2 separate regions of the Homo sapiens genome follow, and region 1 is linked to region 2. Evidence: promoter capture Hi-C in human tissues and cell types (Jung and others, 2019). All regions are on one chromosome and are shown on one strand. Each heading gives the region's core, a stretch centred on a gene start or on the middle of the fragment in contact. The rest is flanking DNA. Distances are from core to core; before and after follow the strand shown. Region 1 has its middle 140 kb from the start of SNX19. Region 2 holds the start of NTM (neurotrimin).

Region 1 (4,625 bases), core at 456-2,955, 310 kb before region 2:
TCCTACAAATTCCAGATTCTGTCTCCTTCTTGTGTCCTCTGTCTCAGCAAAGTGCTCTGCTTACCCAACTGTGTAAACCAGAAACCTGGGTTCATTAACATAGTTCAAATTTCCCTCTTCAGCTTATTTTCTTCCACTTGTTTTAGTGCAGTTTTTCATCTGCTCAGGACTGGATTATTACAACATCCCTTTCTCTCCTTCACTTTACCTTCATACGGCTGACCGCATGACTTTCCAGTGTCCACATTGTTGTTCACCCATTTAAAATCCTTTAATGACTTTCTTTCAGTTTCAAGATAATGGTCAAACTTCACAGCATGGTCTATTATTTATGTATTGTTGCCTAACATATAACCCTACAACTTAGCAGTTTAAAGCCCAAACATGGTCTCTGAGCATTAAGCATCTGGGAGTAAGCTTGTAGTCAAGCTGTCAGCTGGGGCCGCCATCTCTGAGTGCTTGACTGACTGGGAGATCTGCTTCGTAGCTTACTCACAGGATTATCGGCAGGGGTTTTCAGTTTCTTACTAATCTTGGACATGACCTGCCATCACTTCTGCTGTGTGCTGTTGGTCATACAGACCAGCCTTGATAGAATGCAGGAGGGGACCACACCACTGTCTGAATACCAGGATCACTGTGGGTAGGGCCATTTTGGAGACTATTTTAGCTTCCGTTTCTATTGTACTTCCATATCAACCTCCATCATAACTATTAATTTCTTCCTTGTGCTCTGGATTTTAGCTATGCTAAACTTCTAATGCATTGTGTTTTCAAAATTCTTTGTCACCACTTGCTGTTTTCTCTTCCTGAAAAATCCTTTCTATTCAATTTTTTTTTTTTGCCTGGATAACTCTATTTTGCCTTCTATGACCCTTAACTTCCAAAAGACCTCCCCTGACATCCCTTGACTCCAACTTTAGGTCTTTCTCTAGGCTTTCATAGTGCTCCAACTCATCTCCATTGTGCTACACTCTAGTGTGCTACTAGAGTGCACATTGTGCTACTCTACATTTTATTGTAATTATTGGTTTATGAGTCTCCTACACTCTAGTGTGATGTCCCTGAGTTGAGAGATAGTGGATTATTTATCATCCATTTTATTCCCAATATCGAAGTGCTGGAACACAATAGGAGTTTAATAAATGCGTGATGAATGAGTGAATAAATGAATGCCGAGTTTACTGCAGAATATGAATTTTAGGGAGGAAAGAACACAAGCTCTTCTGTCAAATTTTATTATGTCTTAAAATTTTGTGGGTCAGGATTATGGGAAGGCTTCTCCTAGCAATTCTTTTGCTCCATGTGGCGTTAAGTAAAGTCACTCAGCAGTATTTGACTAGTCCGGAAAGTAAAAGATGTCCTCATTCATGACTGGCACCTTGTTAACCATGACTAAAAGGTTAGGCTCGGCTGGGAGTACCCATTGGGGGCTCAACAGAACGGCAGCTCAGGGTAGTCTGATTTCTTGGATGGCTGTTAAGAGCTCTCAGAGATAGTGTTTCAAGAGAGCAAGTAAGAAACTTCAAGGCTCCTTCTGGCCTAGCTTTGGAACATCACTTATACTGCATTTTATAAGTTCCAGCAAGTCACACAGCCAGCCAGTATCCAATGACAGGAGACTACGAGGTCATGAGTAGCAGGTGGCACAGCTCATTGGGAAGCCGACTTTGGACACTAGCTCCCACAACTATAATCAACTATTGTCATGTTTAGCCTATGCTAACTTTCTCTACTATTTTTTTGAATGTGAAAATTTCCAATGTTTCCATCTTGTCTTTGTGAATAAAAAGGAGGAATATGGCTCTATTACTGTACGTTGAGGCAGATGAGCAGCTGAATGAAAATTATATCCATAGGGTGTTTTACATAAGTAGATGTCAAAGTTAAAGGAAGTCTATACAGGCATGATAGAGGGCTTTGTTCTTTAATTGCAACCTTTTCAATGGATAATTTGATAAAGATTCTCAACTGCGGTGGAATCTCTTTTCTAAGGGCATTTTAGAGGTGTGTAGTATGATTTTCCATTGTCACAATGTCAATCAGATGTTGTTCATTAATATTTAATTCCATCCTGCAATATGAGGGACAGTCCCACACAACAAAGAATTTTCCTGTCTAAAATTTCATTAGCACTCTTGTTGAGAAACACTGAATACATAAAGATATGCCTCTCATATTTGCGGATGTCACAACCTATTATAATTATGATATGAGAGAACTGACTCAATAGCTGATTATGTGGAAAAAATAGAGATTTTAGTTGGATGCAAGAGCCAACTTCATGATGTGTCTGCCAAAAATTGCTGCTATCTTAAGCTATATTAATAGAAATTTCAGTCCAGAACACAGAAAGCTATATTAATAGAAATTCCAGTTCACTATATACTGGTCAAAGAGCTCTTGAAGTTTGATGGTCATTTCTGGGCACCTGGTTTTAAAAGTGGCGTAGATAAATCAAAGAATGGCCAAAAGGAGGACAGAAAGTCTGGAAGCCATGCCTTACGAGTGGGGAAACATGAAAGCGATCTTCGAATATTTGAAATGTTGTGTGAAAGAAGGATTGGGCACATCCTTTGAGATTCTAGAAAGCAAAATTAGGTTAAATGAAGAAAGATTTTTTAACCACTGAAACAGTTTTTCAAAAAATGTAGTGTTCTGCCTTGTGTGATAATTATCCCTGCCTTGAAGGGTCCCTGCAGAGAGTGGACAGCCATGGGCCAAGGGGTGGTTTTAAATTAACTGAATATTGTGAAGAGAACACCTATATGAAGTGGTACCCTTCAGTTACTTTTCATTATTGTGATTATTTTATGATTAATGGACTCGTATTTATAAAATACTGTGGACACCACCTCTCCATGCTTCTAAAATAATGCCTCAGTTCTTAATACCTTTCTCTAGCTTCATACCCCTAAAGAAATCCCTTAAGCTAGCTAAGATCTCATTTCTTCAATCACAAAATAAGAAATTATGGTGCTTGACATATTTGTTTAACAGGATAGCTATGATCATCAAATTACCCAATAGTTTTAAGCTGTAAAGTATAAAACAAAGAAATTATTTTTTTTCATCAAAGTTGTGGACTGTCAATATGCATTCCTATAACTGTCTTTTGCCTGAGAGAAATGTTTTAAAATTATTTTTAAAGCCTATTCTAATGACTTGTCATTATTTTCCAGCTTTCTGATAAGGTGTGAAGGTCTCTAATAGCTGTCAACAGTGTGTCACAGGGAGTGATTTAATTAGCACTTACTGTTCTCTTATTGGTTGGCCTTTATTTGGTCCAATACAAAGTCCAACTTTTAAACCAAGGGAGAAGACAAGAAAGGGTGACGCAGAGATAAGCTTTTGCTTAAAAAATGTTTATTTGGGGGAAAATGTTATCATCATGATCTTCCAAAACACATTATATTACTAAATGTGTATTGGCATCTACTCTCTTACTTTAAGATGGTTCCAGTTTTTGAAGTAGCCCAAATCCCCCAGATTGTTACCAGAAATTATCAAAAGGAGAAGAAACACATTCACTTCAGCTGATTTTTGTTGTTGTTTATTGGAGATCCAAGGTAGTCAAATTAGCCTCAAGAAGCCCTTCTGAAGTCTAAGAAGGAAAACCAAATTACTGTTCATTTAATGTTTAATTAAATTTATTATAGCTAGTAGGCTGGTTTTAGGCTGTTTATGGTACACTAATGTTAGAATTTTATGCATTCTATGTACACTTGATAGCACATTGGGGTCTCTCGGTATAATCAACATGTACAATATACTCATGCCCATTTTATGTGAGTTGGAACACACCTTTACTATTTTAAATGATTATAGAAGTTTATAGTTATATTTCTCCCCTTAAATTGTTAGTGATGTCTATAATTTATTTGATGCCACATTCTTGATATGGAACTCAATTCCGAATTAGCAATCTTCCTACAGGGAAAATTCTACTTGGTTCATAAAATGCATTTTAGTATGAGATTTCTAGGAATGCGGTTACAAAATGAGGCAACCGTCTGCATTTTCACTAGAGGTAAATGGCGGTTTTTTTTTTTTTAACTAAAGATAAAGATGATAGTTCTTCACATGGAACTGCAAATAAGTGAAAGTGAATACTGATTTCTCCTGACGTTGCGAGCGTTGGTCTTCAGTGCCCTTCCATTTAGAGTCATTCCTTCCCTTACCTTCTGCAAGTGTTTCTACATCAAAAAACAGAGCGGAAAGAAATTTTCGAAAACATCTTGTCCTAGTCTGACCCTGCACGTATAAAAATGCTGAGGTCGGGGTGTCACAAGTGACTTGCCTCGACCTGTGGGGCTGGGAAAGGCGGGAGCCAGGCTTGAATTCAGATCTGAATTCAAACCCGGGATGATTTTTCCTATTCACATTTCTCCTTACTATTGTGGTGAAACTTGAGGAAGCAAGCAGGAGACAGCATATGTTATTTGATACTAAGTCCCTGCTATAGAAATGCCCCTCCCTACTCCCGTCCTCCTCTCCAGGTGTTCTGATGATAATCAATAGTGTTCCAGTTATATTGGGCAATGTCTGGGAAGTTCTAAAGCTCTGCCTAGAAAGGGAAAATGCCATTTGAGTTGCCAGAACAAAATAAATTTGATGGACTCCCT
Region 2 (4,841 bases), core at 99-2,598:
TTCTTGAGACAGGGGCTGGCTCTGTCACCCAGACTGGATTGTAGTGGCGCCATCTTGGCTTACTGTGATCTCCGCCTCCCAGGCTCAAGCAATTCTCCTGCCTCAGCCACCCAAGTGGCTGGAACCACGGGTGCGCACCACCAAACCCAGATATTTTTAAGGAATTTTTTAGTAGAGATAGGGTTTCACCATGTTGCCCAGGCTGGTCTCGAATTCCTGAGCTCAGGCTACTGGCCTTCCTTGGCCTCCCAAAGTTGTGGGATTACAGGCGTGAGCCACAGTGCCCAGCCAGGAGCTACATTTTCTAGATTTTTTGTTCACATCCTCTAACTTGCTTCTCATAAGGGGAAGCCAAAGATTAGAATAAACTTCCAGGCCCTAGAATTAGACCTCTTAAGAAATCATTTATGTCCATTAGATTATTTCTGTTCGGTTTTTATTCTTTCCTATCACCAAGGAGGTTAATGTCTTCAACTGTCTGAGGAACTACACAAAGTTTACACTCAGAAAGCCCCTCCGCATGTCTACCCTGAATCTTTCTCGCTGCAGTTTAAATCACAGATGCTTCTATGATTGCTTTAGTGGATGTGGATTGACCAAGTCATGGGGAATAAACTCCTGCTTTGTTTTCTTTTGAAGAAGGTTCTCCATCTTCAGACTATAGAGCTTCTTCTCAAATACCAGGTACTTTGTACCTTTCCATTGTATCATATACACATGGATGAATTTAGGAAATTGACTTCTAAAAAGTGAATGAAAAAGAGGAGTAACATAGATGTTCTGAAACAGAAGTGACAGGAGGAGAAAATAGAAAGTTATTTACTATTTTCAAAGCAACTAAGTAGAAAGGTTGATGAAAGAGAGAAAAAAAAGCTGTCACTGAATGATATTTCCATTGGAGGGGAAAATAGGTACCAACAAATGAAAATTGCCTCATCTTTACAAGTTTCACTGAGCATGAAAATGTCCCTTTAAAATTTCCCATAAGCCATGGCTGGCTATGGGATTTTTCCAGTGCAAAGGGAATCTGAGTTCAGGAGGCCAGGGAATGCCAGGGGGAAAGGGATTTTCTGATACTCAGAAGACTCAGAGACTGTCAGTTTAAAAAATGAAAGTAATATAGAAGGGGCAAAGTGGCATTTATCATTCTATCTCTCCAGGCTCCTGTCTCTTTAATCAGCTAGCCTGATTTGCCCAGTAAATGATTCCTGAGAGTGTGTGTGCGTGTGTGTGTGTGTGTGTGCCCGCGCGCGTGTGTTGTAGCTCTGTCAATCCTTGGATTAGAACCAATGATTGCAGCTTGTAGGAGGGCTGTCCAGGGCCAGATTGTACAATGTGTCTCAGTGCCAGAGTATGAGTGGAGATAATTACGGAGAAGTCATACTCTCTCACACCCTCGGCTTTCTTGTTGTGTCCTTCAGCAAAACAGTGGATTTAAATCTCCTTGCACAAGCTTGAGAGCAACACAATCTATCAGGAAAGAAAGAAAGAAAAAAACCGAACCTGACAAAAAAGAAGAAAAAGAAGAAGAAAAAAAATCATGAAAACCATCCAGCCAAAAATGCACAATTCTATCTCTTGGGCAATCTTCACGGGGCTGGCTGCTCTGTGTCTCTTCCAAGGTAAGAGCTTGCTATTGATTTGCCTTCGGTAGACCCAGGAATTGTACAGTGTGCTTTATAAGATTTGCAGACTCCCCGAGTCGGCTGTGCTGCGCTGTTTGCAGGTGGAGGAGAGAGCGTTTAGACAGCATGGCTGGGACTTCATTCTCCCGACTAGGCTGTGAGAATATTGATTTGATTCTGGCTGCTACCGGAATGGGGGAATATGTATGTGCATAAGTAAAATGTGTTTGGTGCTCCTGTTAGGACTGTGCTTGTGTGCAAGGCTCCCTGGCTTCATGCACATTCTTGCACACATACACAACGGAGCACACATGTAAGCAGGGGGAAATGACAGATTCGGAGGGCAACAGGGTTGCTAATGTGTTGCTTATGCGACTGGGAAGAAATTACAAGAGGAAACTTTAAATATCGGCCAGCGAACTTGCAAAGCTTTTAAAAGGAGCAAAGGGGAAAATGCAGGCTAGAAAGAATCAGGTGCTTCCTGTGAGGTTCTGGTCAGCGATCCAGCTGCAAGGGATGAGTCAATTTGCAGCAGTGGGGGACAACTGTATTAGTTTTAAATGTGTTCGGGGGTGTGTTTGTGGCTGGGGTCGGAGGTGTGGAAGCGAGGGGAGCCGGGGCTCTGAAATTCTAAAAAGCTTTTCGAAGTTGAAGGGAGAGAGGCAATAAGAGTCGAATGCTAATTTTCTGTTTATTTATCGGCTGAGCCGGGAGCCCTGGGGGCTGCAGTTGAGTGCAAGCTTTGATGTCCCCAGTGCTGTGTTCTGTGCATTTGGAATCGGCCTCCACCTTGAGTCCATTTGCTGCACCGTGCCTCCCCACACCCCATCCCGGCTCTCACGTCTGTTCGTTCCAGCAACAGAATTATCCACTAATCTTCTTGCTCCCACCTGCCCTGTCCTTTGGGGTAACTAGTTTGCCTCTTTTATATTAAACACAGCTAAAACTCGTAAGGATCGAGACAAGCTGAGAAACTTTCCCAGGGTGGCCCAGCAGGGCTCCGGGAGGAGGAGCCCTCTCTTGGGAGGTGAGGCTCAGTCCTATGCAGTTGTATTCCCAGAGGAAAGTTCCCTCTGACCCGGTGAAAAACGATGGGGAGTCCCACCCCCTCGCCCTCTTCTCCCCCTGCAATATGGAGTTCTCCTGATCTGGACTGAGTCCTGAGCTGTAGTCCTGCTGGCTCTTCTCCGAGGTTAGGATTTAGGGATTGCTGCTGTCCTCTTGACATAGGTTGCAGTGGCTGCAGTGTGGATCCACGTAAGGTGGGCAGAGAGACCAGGCTGGAAGGATCAAATGTGTACACCCTTGACTGGGGCTCGATGAAGAAGGCAAGGGGTGGGGACAGGAGGGATCTGTGTCGGGTGATAAGGAAGTCCAAGGTGGTGAATCTTGCAGGGATGTCCATGATGTCGTCTGCTGCACCCAACCCCAGGAGGCATGGGCCTCAGGATTCCCTGCTGTCCCCTAGGGGCTTTGGTGGGTGTTTGAGTGAAGGGAATCAACTTGGAGGCATCCTCGATTGACTCCTCTTATATAATATGAAGCAGTATCAGTGTGTGTGTGTGTGCGTGCGTGTGTGTGCACCCCTGCTTGTTCTGGGTGCACAAGAATGAAGTGGGGAAGCTGAGTTCAGGATCGGGCAGTTTCGGAAAAGCAGTTTCTGTGGGGGTTGACAGCAAAAATGAAAACTAAGCAGGCAAGGGGTAGGGTGAGGGGTCAGAGGTAGGGAGAGGGAAGGTCCCAAGCCCTCAGTCATTTCTATCTGTCCCGAGATCCATGTCTCTTCTGCCTGTAACATCAAACTGGAGACAATGACCAAACTTCCACCATCAACAGCCCTGCTGGCTGCATGCCAGGAGCCCCAGGGCCATACTGAATTTACATATAAATTAGCATACGTGATTTTTTTTTTCATCAGAATAAATGCAGGGAAGCATAATATTTGCTCATACTTTGAATCATCTCTGAATAGATGAGTAGCAAAGTGGTGGTGCCAATTTCTCTAAGGTGCCATCTGACTTTGTGGTCTTGTTCCTAACTTGGGGTAGGGGTGGTGGCGACAGCACTATCTCAGACCTTATCACATTCTACCGAATCCGGAATTTCTCAAAAAGAATGATGGCCTTATTTGTGCTACCCTCACCCAGTCAGCCCTGAACAGGCTTCAGTGGTCGTAATAGAACAAGGTTGCCCAATTTTAACGCAGAACGACCCCCAAAGACCCGCATATTGCATGCCAGTCAGATGTGGCAAAGGTGATGTCTGTTTTCTCTTTCAGAGGAAGGAAGCTGAAGTCTGCCAGCTATCTCTTATCAAACTTGCAGAATTACTGAGGCAGCCCAGGTCTTGCCTGCAATAATCCACCCCTATTGCATTGACCCAGTGGGACTAGTTAGAATGCAGCACACATTCCAAGGCGATTTTTTCTTCTCCTCTGTTTTTGTTTTAAGCTGGTTCTTCCTAGAGCTGCTGCTTCCTGTGCCTCCTGCCTCTTGAAAAGGTGTCTGGTGCTAATGGCAGGTTAGGAACCCCTCCCTGACCTGCTCCTCCCCACAACCCAACCAGCAACCAAGATCCAGCTTAGGTAGGGAGGGGGGTTTCTGAGGGAATCAGCACTGATTAGTGACGCTGACAGGAGGGGGGATTAGCTCCCTGGGGCTCTGGCCCTAAGATACACCAGGGTTGATTAAGTGGAGGCATCTCGTTGCCGGGAGCAGACGCTACAGAACTGGATCAGGCGCTGTCCCTTGCAGAACACCCACCGCCCACCTTCTGCCACTGAGAGCCTCTGAAAGGAATGGCTGCTTGTGCTGCAGCTTCCTCTTTCTAGAAAACCGACCATTTCTCCTTCGAAGGATTATTGTTTCTTTTAACACCTTCAGATTTGCTTGGCTAGGTTCCTCTCTTACCTTTCTCATTTCCTCACCTCTCCTCACATCCCGCATCCGCTTAGCAGCTAGCCTGAGACACAGACAGGGCAGAGGAGAAGGAAAAGGTGCCTCGGCAAAGTTCACACTCCCCTTCGCGCAGCACCCGGGAGGTGGGCGGTGGGCGCCGTTCGGCTGGGCAGGCCGGCCAGGTTCCTGCCATGCACAGTACACACGTGGTGCCAGCAGCAGCTTGAGCTGGGCAATGCTTCTGATATTCAGGGGTGGCAGACGAGACCATAGCAATATCTACTGGCAAAGTGGAAACATCAGCCTGGGATGATGGGAC

Evidence for each region. The method cuts DNA at HindIII sites, captures the fragments that hold promoters and counts their contacts. A contact is called where the count stands out against the background at its distance.
Region 1: a contact is called between a fragment that was not itself captured here and the fragment with the promoter of NTM in region 2, in 1 of the 25 tissues and cell types used here (mesendoderm cells).

The regions. Positions count from the first base shown.
Region 1 is chr11:131,058,347-131,062,971 of GRCh38, forward strand. No RefSeq gene overlaps it. Among named protein-coding and RNA genes, the nearest start is that of SNX19, 140 kb to the left of the region's middle. The HindIII fragment of the contact is 4,893 bases long and covers 1-4,152 here.
Region 2 is chr11:131,369,267-131,374,107 of GRCh38, forward strand. NTM (neurotrimin) reads left to right here and starts at 1,349. Exons shown (of 9, transcript NM_001352005.2): 1 at 1,349-1,622. The coding sequence starts at 1,541. RefSeq lists an enhancer at 4,812-4,841. The HindIII fragment of the contact is 4,341 bases long and covers 1-1,753 here.